Linked DNA regions of Homo sapiens: region 1 is linked to region 2. The links are contacts of gene promoters, found by promoter capture Hi-C in human tissues and cell types (Jung and others, 2019). All regions are on one chromosome and are shown on one strand. Each heading gives the region's core, a stretch centred on a gene start or on the middle of the fragment in contact. The rest is flanking DNA. Distances are from core to core; before and after follow the strand shown.

Region 1 (5,926 bases), core at 3,146-5,645, 81 kb after region 2:
ACATTCCATGCTCATGGATAGGAAGAATCAATATTGTGAAAATGGCCATACTACCCAAAGTAATTTATAGATTCAATGCTATTCCCATCAAACTACCATTGCCATTCTTCACAGAATTCGAAAAAACTATTTTATATTTCATATGGAATCAAAGAAGACCCCATATAGCCAAGACAATCCTAAGCAAAAAAAAAAAAAAAAAAAAAAAGCTGGAGACATCATGCTACTTGACTTCAAACTATACTACAAAGCTGCAGTAACCAAAACAGCATGGTACTGGTACCAAAACAGATATATAGACCAATGGAGTAGAACAGAGACCTCAGAAATAACACCACATATCTACAACCATCTGACGCCTGACAAAAATAAGCAATGGGGAAATGATCTCCTATTCAGTAAATGGTGCTGGGAAAACTGGCTAGCCATATGCAGAAAACTGAAACTGGACCCTTTCCTTACACCTTATACAAAAAAATTAACTCAAGATGGATTAAAGACTTAAATGTAAAACCCCAAACCATAAAAACCCTAGAAGAAAACCTAGGCAATACCATTCAGGACACAGGCATAGGCAAAGACCTCATGACAAAAACACCAAAAGCAATTGCAACAAAAGCCAAAATTGACAAATGAGACCTAATTAAAGAGCTTCTGCACAGCAAAAGGAACTATCGTCAGAGTGAACAGGCAACCTACAGAATGGGAGAAAATTTTTGCAATCTACCCTTCTGACAAAGGCCTAATATCTGCAATTTACAAGAAACTTAAACATATTTGTGAGAAAAAAACAAACAATCCCATCAAAAAGTGGGCAGAGGATATGAACAGACACTTTGCAAAAGAAGACATTTACATGGCCAACAAACATATGAAAAAAAGCTCAACATCACTGATCTTCAAAGAAATACAAATCAAAACCACAATGAGATACCATCTCATGCCAGTCAGAATGGTTATTATTAAAAAGTCAGGAAACAATAGATGCTGTCGAGGTTGTGGAGAAACAGGAATGCTTTTACACTGTTGGTGGAATGTAAATTAGTTCAACCATTGTGGAAGACAGTATGGTGATTCCTCAAGGATCTGGAACCAGAAATACCATTTGACCCAGCAATCCCAGTACTGGGTATATACACAAAGGAATATAAATTATTCTACTATAGAGACACATGCACATGTATGTTTTTTGCAGCACTATTTACAATAGCAAAGGCATGAAACCAACCCAAATGTCCATCAATGATAGACTGGATAAAGAAAATGTGGCACATATACACCATGGAATACTATACAGCCATAAAAAGGAATGAGATCATGTCCTTTGCAGGGACATGGATGAAGCTGGAAACCATCATCCTCAGCAAACTAACACAGGAACAGAAAACCAAACACCACATGTTCTCACTCATAAGTGGGAGTTGAACATTGAGCATACATGGACACAGAGGGGAACAACACACACCAGGGCCTGTTCTGGGGTAGGGGTTGAGGGGAGGGAACTTAGAAGATGGGTCGATAGGTGCAGCAAACCACCACGGCACACGTATACCTATGTAACAAACCTGCACGTATTTTTTCTTTAGAAGAAATAAAGGAAAAACAATTAAAACATAAAAATAAAATATAAAATAATTAACAGAGTATAATTGGATCGTTTTTAACACAAAGGATACATGCTTGAAGTGATGAAGACCTAATTTACCCTGATGTGATCATTATGCATTGCATGCCTGCATCAAAACATTCCAAATGCCTCATAAATACATACAACTACTATGTATTCATAAAAATTAAAAATAAATTAAAATTTTTTTCAAATAAATAGATATTTTTGAAAAAAATTCAGTTTTTGACACTATACTTCTTTATTAAATTTAGAGTTTGCCCTAATGATTAAAATGTCATATTATCTTGTCAGTCTCCCTTGAAATGATATCATAATTAAGTAATTATTATACTTAAAACAATATAAAGTGAGTGAAGATATTTGCAAAACATATTCCCAATAAAGGTCTTATATTTAGTATACTCAAAGAACTACAAATCAATAAGAAAAACATAAACAATTTAGTATAAAAAGATTTGAAAAGATAATTAAAAAAAGAAGTTTAGATGGCCAATAAACATCTAAAAAAGTGATCACCTCATTAGTAATCAGGGAAATGCCAGTTAAAATCACAATGAGATAGCACTATATACCCAATATGACTGAAATTTAAAAAACAAAGACCTTTCAAACAGAGCTGGTGGGTGCGTAATCAGTACAACCATTTTGCAAGAACAAATTGACATTGTCTTCTAAACTTGAGGATATGGTGGTCTCTATGATTTAGAAATTCCACTTCTGTTGAAATGCATGCACATATGCTTCTAAACAGAAGTCCAAGAATACTCATAGCAGCTTAATTTATTATACTCCCAACAAGGAATATGCCAAGTTTCCACTAACAGAGAAATGGACACATGAATAGCACATATATGTAGAATGAAACATTATTCATTAGAGAAAATGAAGGAACTACAGCTAAAGGGACAACATAAACAAATTACACCAATATAATATTGAACCAAAGGATCCATTCTCACAAAAAATTACATACGATGTGATACCATCTTTATAATGTTCAAGAATAGGCAACACTAAACTGTGGTGTTTAAGGATGTACTTAGATGATAAGACTATAAAGAAAAGCAAATAAATAATTAACAAAATCAGAAAAATGTTTCATTTAGGTTGGGTAATGGGATTGATTGGGAATGGTACATATATATTTGTTTTATGCAATTTTCTTTATGTGTATTGTATTTCACAATATTAAAGTAAAACAAAACCGTTGGTTAGACTCTTCTCTGAAGACAGTGAAACTTTTTACCCCTATTGAGCAGGACTCCTTACTTTGTAAACTCATGGTCAATGAATATAACATAGACTTTCCAGTTTATCTTAAAGAGATGTATTTTGAAGCCCAGGAAATGGACCTTCATTCAGACATAATGCTTATTTGAATAATTCTTTGGGGTTTATCACAATGTTAAAAATTTTGTTTTCTGGATAAATGAATTAATGAATGGAAAGGTACCCAGTGTAAGAATATAGTATGGACACAAGAAAGACAGCAGAATGTGTAATGAGTTGCTAATACTTTGTTTCTTTCAATGGGGACAATTGGAATTCCATGCTGTCTACTTCAATTTTTTTCTACTCTGTATTTACAAAAGAAGGTATAAAAATTTGAAAAGAGTTGAATGGACTCTTAAGGGTCATTTGATCCTTCTAATACTAATAGACAACCCATGCCAGATGGCTGTGCACCTTATGAACAGTGCCTTTGAGGCTGTCTATTTCTTCTCTGGATAGCTTTAGGTATTTCCATCTTTTTTTTGGCATAAAGCTGCATTCTATCCCTGGGTTTTTAACCGAAAGTGTCTTTGAAGATATGAGGAAGAAACACCCTTACAATGAGGACATTTTTGGGAAAAGGCTTAATGCTTTTCTTTTAGCATTATTTATGTAGAAGCCCTGTGAGCATAAGGTCCTTGAATAGCTTGTTCACAACTATGTGAATTACTCAAAATATCAGATGCTCCGTAGAGTTGAATGACCGAATTTTTAACTTCGGTGGGAATATAGACTATCACATTGATGTGTACCTTCCCATTCTAATCGTTCTGATGTTTAATAAAAGCTATATGATTCAGCAGGGTGTTCACCTGAAAGGCAGGGTAGGTTTTGTATTTAGTCACAAATACACACACATATAAAGAGGTGACAGGGAACCAAACACATTCTTCTAGGTTTAGTGGAAGTCCTCTCTGTAGAAAAATTCGGCCAAGTATACAGAGGCTCCTGTCCTATTGCTCATTTGGTTTCAGTTCAAGACAGAGCAGGAGAGTTATTATTTGACCTCCCAAATCCCTAGTAATACACACACACAAAACGTAATTACATATACCCCTCCCAATGCAGTGTGCTGTCTAAAACTGTAACACTATGAGTGGTCATCTAAATTAATGAGCATTTTTGTGATGACCACTCATGAAGTTGGCCTGCTAGTGAGGGAGAACAGCTGTCAGTTACTCTTCTCTTTTCTTAACAGTATATTAAGCGAAATGTAATTAACTTCCAAAGAACAAAGTTTCATAAAGTATTGAAAATATTTTTGATATCAATTTTATAGGTCATATCTGTTTAATCTAGACTCTGAGTTTTCCCTTTAAAATATGTATATATACACACATTTATACATATATATGCACAATACTTTTAAAACTTCGTTTTATTTGTTACACAGTAGTTCTACGCTCTTTTATTACATGTTCTCTCCCTCTTATCGAGATAAATTTGTAGTAAACTCTGAGTCCTGACATTAATAAAGAGAAAGTTTTATTGTGAAAAACTCAGTTATTTGAAATATGTTCTGTTAATATGTTTTTGTTGAAGTGATAGCCAGGAACTTACACATTATTGTTAAATTTAAATTATCCACAAGCCTTGATTCTGCTTTAAGAGAAGCTTTTTGTTCTCTTTCTCTTCTCTTCAACCATAAAAGTTAATATCTTAAAAATTTTCTGTAGCCTACAGAAAGACACATATTGCATTTTCTCATTTAAATGAAGCAGGGGGTAAAATGTTGGTTGGTTTCTACCTCTTTCTACAGTGTATACATATATCAAACATCATATTGTACCCTATAAATAAATACAATGATTATTTGTCAATTAAAAAAAAAAGGAGCAGTTACCTCTGAGTAGAGGGAGAGTATTGGCTAGGAAGGTACATGAGGAAAGCTTGTAGGTTGACGAGAATGTTCTGTATCTTGAGCTGGGTGGTTACTAGGCTATATGTGTACATAAAAATTCATCAATCCGTATGCTAAGATTCGTGCTCTTTACTATATGTGTATTATACATTCCTTTTAAATAAATTGGTAGATTAAAAAGTAAAAATAAAAATCTCCCTAGCCTAGAGCCAAAAGCAGTTTCAAGGTTTTTGACTCTCTAATTTTCCTTTCCAGTGTCCTCCTTTATGCAAATTTCCAGAGAAACATATATCAACTAACTCCTTTTTTAGCATATGTAAAAGACACCACTGTAAAGGGGAAAAGCATAGACAAGTTACAGGCTTACATGAGGTGGAAATTTCATTACAGCCAGAACTAGGCCTCATTTGACATGTTGTTAGGCTAAGCTTTTACCAGCTAAAGGTTAAGGGTATTAGAAGATAATTTAGGTCACCAAACTACCTCATTTCACCTGAATATTAGCTTACAGACAGGTAATAGCATTAGTCTCTAAATGGGGGCATGAGGCATGTTGAAGCTGGAGAAATCCATTCTGTAGAGGAACGATGCTAGATAATTAACATGTTTGACTCCTAGCCTACAATATAATGTATTTTAAATCCATATACTGCCTAAACGTTTTTCTGTGAGGAGGCAATCTGTCAAATTTGCCTAAATGTGATGACATTTAAATAGAAATGATATCTTTTAAATTTACTTTAGTAGGGTCATTACTATTTTTATATGCCAGTTGTTAAATCCTGAATGTTTTGCATTCTAAATAAAGAGAAATTTTAGTTTTTACATGATAATTTTATGTATGTGAACAGGCATTTTAGATAAATGGTAAATATTTAAATTTTCCTCTTCATAAAGTAGTAAAATGTATTATATATATGTATGCAACAATTTGAATGATAATGGTTTTCAACAAAAATTATAATTGGTTTTAAATAGGAGGGCATGTTTTGGCTTATTAAATTTCTATATGCAGTATTCAGTAAAGTAGAAATATTTTTGTCTCCATAAATTAAAAAAAGTCAGAGAGCCACTGTGAGTGGCTTTTCCTTAGGTAACAGGGATATCTTTCTAATTCAGTTTTCAGACATATTCGTTATATAACATGCTAATTTTCTTTGTTA
Region 2 (6,271 bases), core at 1,630-4,129:
GCCAAAGCAGGAGGATCACTTGAGCCCAGGAGTTTGAAACTAGCCTGGGCAACTTAGTGAGACCCTGTCTTTACAAAACATAAAAAAGATTAGACAGGCATGGTGGCGTGTGCCTGTAGTCTCAGCTACTTGGGAGGCTGAGATGGGAGAATCACTTGAGTCCAGGAGGTTAAGGCTGCAGGGAGCTATGATCGAGTCACTGCACTCCATCCTGAGCAGCAGAGTGAGACCCTGTCTCAAAAAAAAAAAAATTAAATAAATAAAAAGTAAAAAATAAAATTGAATCCTTTTTCTGAGTGTATTCAAGGTTGATGTTAACCACTTTTAGGAATTTTGACAATTATCTTGGGAAATCAGTAAAGCTTAGGTTTGGCCAATACGTGGATAAAATAAGATTTATTCAAGTTGCATAGAAAGTATAGGGTATATATAAAGTGCGAGTATTGGATACTTTTGCCTTCCCCAGAGATTTCCCCCTGAACTCTGAAATAATAATAGTATTTACATATAGTAACTTATTATATATGTATCTGTTATCTGCCTTGAGCTTTACGACTCTAGGTAGGCAGGAGCAATATCTCCATTTTACTTATAAGGAAACCAGAGTCTTGAAGAAGTATTTAGGTCAAGGTTTCAAAGCCAAGAAATGGCAGGACACATAATTTTGCTTATAGGACTTGACTCACTCTGATTAAATGGGAAAAATATCAATTTTTCAAGGCTAGAGGCAGGCCATGTATTTGTCAGCTCTGACTAGACTTAATTATAAACAGTTTGCAGTTTTTTCCTGCTTCTTATAATCTGGAGTGAGTATCTGGCCAAAAATTGATAGACCTATGAAATGACACCATTTCCATTCCAAAGGGAACACCAGGACTCCAAGAGAAAAGCTTCTTGTCATCCTCCTTTTTGGATCACAGATACAGGGGGGAGAAGAAATACTTTCATATCTTGTGCTGTTTCGTGACTAACGTCTTCCAGCTTCCCAAATGAAAGGGAACCTTCAATAACAGCTTTCTTAAAAATGAGAGAGAGAAGGCCTTTGCAGAAATGGAATGGCTCTCTGCCGGTTACAGTCGGCTGGGAACTGACCTGTGAACTGACCTGGCTACGGTGGGTACTGCTCTACTCATCAGAGGTCCTGTGGTGCTTTGAACGTTAGCATGCTGGTCTGCTTGGTTAGCTGATTATGCCAGGAGGTAAGGCCAACGCTGTGGGTTCTTAAGGCATGAGAGCCAGCTATCATTAAAACCCCCTTCCTTCCTCCTCCAACAATGACACCACTACAGAAATCATTTCTGATGACTTCTCTATCAGCTCTCCACACATGTTAAGCTGCAAAACTAAGGGATACTTGGCAAAGGCCTGTGGATGTCATATTATCATTGGCTGAAAAGTACAAAACCAAATGAAAGAAGCCCCTCAACTGCAGGTTCTTCCAAGGTGGGTCTGTAGCTCATTTCCAGGAATCTGAGTCAGGCTGTGCTTTGAATCATCACTCATAATCAGTCATAGCGCTAGTGAAGCATCTCAGGTTCAGACCTGAAGGACATGGTCTATAGATTCAGCATTCTTCCTGTTTGGAATCTGAGAGTTTGGGGAGTGCAAAAACTATTATTAAGAAAGAGGACTGAATCCTTACGCTTACACTTTAACCATTTAACATATGAGACTCTCAGGATCAAAGTTCACCTGTAATTGGTAATTTGGAAATTCAGACCTTATCAAAATGGCATGAGTTTAGAGCATTCAATTTACATGAAATGACTGCCAAGGTGTTTCTCAATTAGCTAACACATAGACAACTACAGGTGGAGGAAAAAACAAGTAAAAGTAGGAACTTTTTACAAGTTTTCTGAGGTTTTGCTCTCTGGTTAAGAAATGAGCAACTCTCCTTAGAGACAACGCCTGAGTTTAATATGCCTCCCACCCCCAACTCTATCAGGGGAAAGCCATTAGGATGATGTAAACAGAGGGTGATTATCTAGAAGCAGCCCTTGTTTTCTGCACGTGAGAAGCAACAAGTGTCCTTTAAAGGCGAGCACAGAACAAAACGCCCAGACCTCCACAGGCAGGTTTCCAAAACTAGCTACACAGGGGGTTTCCCCAAACACCTCAGTCCCTCACACCGAGTGCCCTTGGCTACCCTTGGCATACCCAGACCCAGATGTGGGGGAGGAAAAGCAAGCCAGTAAGAAAAGGCTGTGGAGCCAACTTCACAAGAAGGCGCTGGAGCAAGCCACAGAGCTTGGCGTTCCTCAAAGTTCTTGCATGCCTGGGGAAAAGGGGTCACCCAGGGAAAACTATTGGGCTTCCTCTTCCTAAAACTCCGAATCCTAAACCCTAACGTGGAGAGGTGAAGTTCCCCGAACTCTACACGTGTCCGCAGCGCACCCCTCACGGAAGGCGCCCGCCTCCCCGCGCGCCCTGGGGCAAGTGGGTGCCAGCCCCTGCTGCGACGGGTCGCCCAAGCTGCAGGGCGGTCGGGCCAGAACGTTCCCAGCTCTCGTCTTCTCCCGACCGAGGGGCCCAGGCAGCGTCTCCGCCATCCCCGCACCCGCCCCAGTCCCAGTCCCCGATAAGAAAGACTTGCACCGACCGTGGAGCTCGGCGTGCGCAGACAGCTGCCGGGTCCGCGCGGCGCCTGGGCCAGAGGAAGCCGGAGCCGGCGAGGGTGGGTGGCGCGGAGGGTGGCCGGTGTCCCGGGCTCCGGCGCGGCGGCGGCTTCGGCTGCACAGCTTCCCCGGCTTCAGAAAACCTCCTGGGCACTGCTTCTCCCGGGGAGGTCTCGCTGGGACCCCAATCCCCGGCGACGACCGGGTGGGATGGATGAAGCCTCTCCACCGCCTCTCCACAATCGTCAGACCAGCGGGATGACTGTACGCGCGCGCGAGGGCTCGCACGAAAAAGAAAACTCCGGAGGAACACGCCTCCAGTCTGTCCTCCCCGTCTCCTCCCAAAGCTCCAGACCTTCCACTCCACTCTGGGACCGCAAGAGCGTCCTAACCTTCCAGCTATCCTGGGACGCGGCCACTAAAAAGCACAAAGCTGCCGCCCCCTTCCAGGCCCTGAAGGGCAGGAGTCTTTTTTAACTATTTCCTTCCTGAAAGAAAAGGTGGGGGATGTGGAGGAGAGAGGGTAGAGTTTGACAGACAAGACTCAGAATTCCGAAAGGCCTTGCAGAGGAACCCATCCTCTTAGTGCAGGCAGATTTGATCTGTGACGGAACAACTGGACACAGAGCCAGGGCCCACGGGTGGTTTCTTCTCCGTCTTCCCTGCCGCCTTTGCTTGGCTTGCGTGCTCCCTCTTAAGCTTAGAGGCCGTTGAGGAGCCGAAGTGGACAGCAGTTTACTGGATCAGGTGGTTTGCTTCTATCTTGTCCCTTGTAGCCAGCATCCCACGGCTACAGACCTCCAGCCCAGGGCAAAGAAGGAGCCTCAGGAGAGACTATGGAAGGTTCCAGCGCGTGGCTCCGTGAAACCTCAAGAAATTCAAACAATGAAGAAGCCGACCTTACAGAAAGTGGGTCTCAACGTCTTTATCACGGCAGATACTTTATCCTAAATTGGGGGTGGGAGAGGAGATGAGGGACAAAGGCCACTGCCTGTGACATGTGAGTAAAAACTGGGGTCTCCTCAGGGAAGGCCTGCCTTGGAGTCCTTCAGTGCACTGCTAGAGTCAGCACATGGTAGAAGTGTGAGGTTGGAGCACTGGTCATGTTATATCCCATGCTGTTCCGGCTATCTGCTGCAGCTAAACAAATTACTATAAAACGTAGTGGCTTAAAATAACAACACTCATTTACTCTGCTTATCAGTCTGCAGTTTGGGCAGAGCCTGTCTGGGACAGCTCGTTTTTGCTCCATGTAGCAGGGGCTGGAGGATCCACTTCCAAGACAGTTCACTTGCTTGGTGTTGAGTGTTAGTTTTTCTCCACGTGCGTCTCTCCACAAAGACTTGTGGAGACTTGTGGTTTGGGCTTCCTCACAGCATGGTGGCGGGGATCCAAGAGTGAATGTCCCCAGAGACAGAAAGTGGAAGCTGCCAGTTTCTTAAGGGCTGGGCCCAGAAACTGGCACCGTGTCATTTCTGCTTGATTCTATTAGTCAAGCAGTCACAAATCCCAGATTGAAGGTGAGGGTATATAGAGCCCAACCCTTAGTGTGAGGAGTGTCAAAGAATTTAGGGACCATTTTGTAAAACCATCAAAGAGATCTACAGAAAACCACCATTGAAAGAGGCCTTAATAGTCATCTAGTAGGGTTAGACTAGATATTACCCTGTTCACTAATCTTACAGCTTCTCTAGGAGGGAGAATCAGCCAACCAGAATAACTAATAGCTTTTATAAGTGCCATTGTTTATATTAAAAAAAGGTGACCCTTTGGGCATGTGGCTTGGCAAGCTGACAATATTTTCGGGAAAGAAAAACTTACTGCTTCCTCCCAAAAGAGGCAGTTCACATCTTGGCCCGTGAAACATGTGCTGGATTTCAGCCCTTATTCACTCTGTGGCCAGACACACTTGGACAGTGCATCACCTGCATATCTGAATATGTCAATCTGTCCAGTCTTTGCTAGAACACATTCATCATGACCCACCTATTGAGACAGCTGATCTCACTGTGGTGTAGGACTAGTTACTAAAAATTCTTCCTTCACACCTATTAGGATAGCCATTATAGTAAAACAAAAGCAAAAACAGCAAAGAACAAGTGTTGGCAAGAATGTTGAGAAATTGGAACCCTTGTGCATTGCCAGTCTGAATGTAAAATATAGTGTAGCAGTTGTGGAAAACAGCATGGCAGCCCTCCAAAAATTAAACATAAAATTACCCTATGATCCAGCAATTCTACTTTTTGGTACTTACCTAAATAATTGAAAGCAGAGTCTCAAACAGATATTTGTACACCCATATTCATAGCAGCATTATTCAGAAAAGCCAAAAGGTGAAAACTAGCCAAAAGATGGAAACAATCCAAATATCCATCAGTGGAAGAATGGATAAACAAAATGTGGTATATACATGTATGTATATGTATATAAATACATGTACATAACACAGAACATTATTCAGCTTTAAAAAAGAATGATATATGCTACCACATGGATGAACGTTTAAGATATTATGTTAAGTGAAATAAGCCAGACATAAAAGGAAAGATAGATATTTTATTATCCCACTTAGATGAGGTACCTAGAATAGTTAAATTCATAGACACCGAAGGTAGAATAGTGATTACCAGGGGCTTGGAGGTGCCGAGGGGAGAATGGGGACTTACTGTTTCATACGTTTCAGAGATTTAGTTTGGGATGATGAAAAAGTTCCAGTGACGGATGGTGATGAGGGTTGCACAACAATGTGAATGTACTTAATGCCAATGAACTGTACACTTTGAAATGGTTAAAATGGTAAATTTATGTTATGTATCTTTTACCGTAATCAATTCTTCCTGACATCAAAATGAAATCTGCCTCTATACGTTACCTGTTGATCTGCCCTCTAAATTCATAAAATGAGTTTACTGTCTCTTTTAAGATCTTTAAACATAAGTAAGTGTATTTATGTGAATAATCAGCATAGACCTGCCTTTGTAAGAGAATAGGATTGCCTCATTCTAGATGAGAACAACATAAATGTTCTTTAGCTGTTGGAGATTTATATCCTCATTTTCTCAGCTTTACTTGGGGCAAATGACTTCAGGGGACTCGAACCAGTTTTTAGTCAAGTTAACTTTACCTCCAGTTACCTTTCTCCCCATAGATAATACTTTATATACTTGCCCCAACTCTATATTCCATGCTTTTTACTTTCAAAGAACATATAATTAATATATTTGACTAAGCTTTTCAACTTGACTTCCAAAGGTTATTTCTTTCCCCTGGAAAGTGGGTTGGATGCAGATTTGCAGGTTTTCTGGGTTTCGGGGAAACTATCCTGATCACACTTGACTTCTGGTTCAAGTAGCTCACTAAGTGGAGGATTACTGTAATGAACTTATCTTGGCATCATGTTAGTATTGTATTGATTTCATGAACAAAAAGTGCTGAAGATTAAGAAGTACTCAATATAGCACTTAAAAAACCATTTTTTCATGTGTCCTTGGGGCAAATGTTCTTCTGAATTTAAGTTTCTTGATTTAAATTTGTAAATCCATTTCACAGTTGCTAACTCCCAAGATCCTCAAACTTGAAATGCAGTAGTGGTTTTGAGTCTCACAGTATTTGCTAGAGATGTGTTCATGGTTAAGGTCTCTAGGAGCAATGAAACC

The links. Contacts are between HindIII fragments. The study calls those that stand out against the background at their distance.
Region 1: a fragment that was not itself captured here is called in contact with the fragment with the promoter of EDNRA in region 2 in 5 of the 25 tissues and cell types used here (H1 embryonic stem cells, heart left ventricle, hippocampus and 2 more).

The regions. Positions count from the first base shown.
Region 1 is chr4:147,399,019-147,404,944 of GRCh38, reverse strand. No RefSeq gene overlaps it. Among named protein-coding and RNA genes, the nearest start is that of MIR548G, 57 kb to the right of the region's middle. The HindIII fragment of the contact is 5,004 bases long and covers 1,894-5,926 here.
Region 2 is chr4:147,477,705-147,483,975 of GRCh38, reverse strand. EDNRA (endothelin receptor type A) reads right to left here and starts at 2,879. Exons shown (of 8, transcript NM_001957.4): 1 at 2,600-2,879. RefSeq lists enhancers at 1,980-2,059, 2,090-2,189. The HindIII fragment of the contact is 3,954 bases long and covers 627-4,580 here.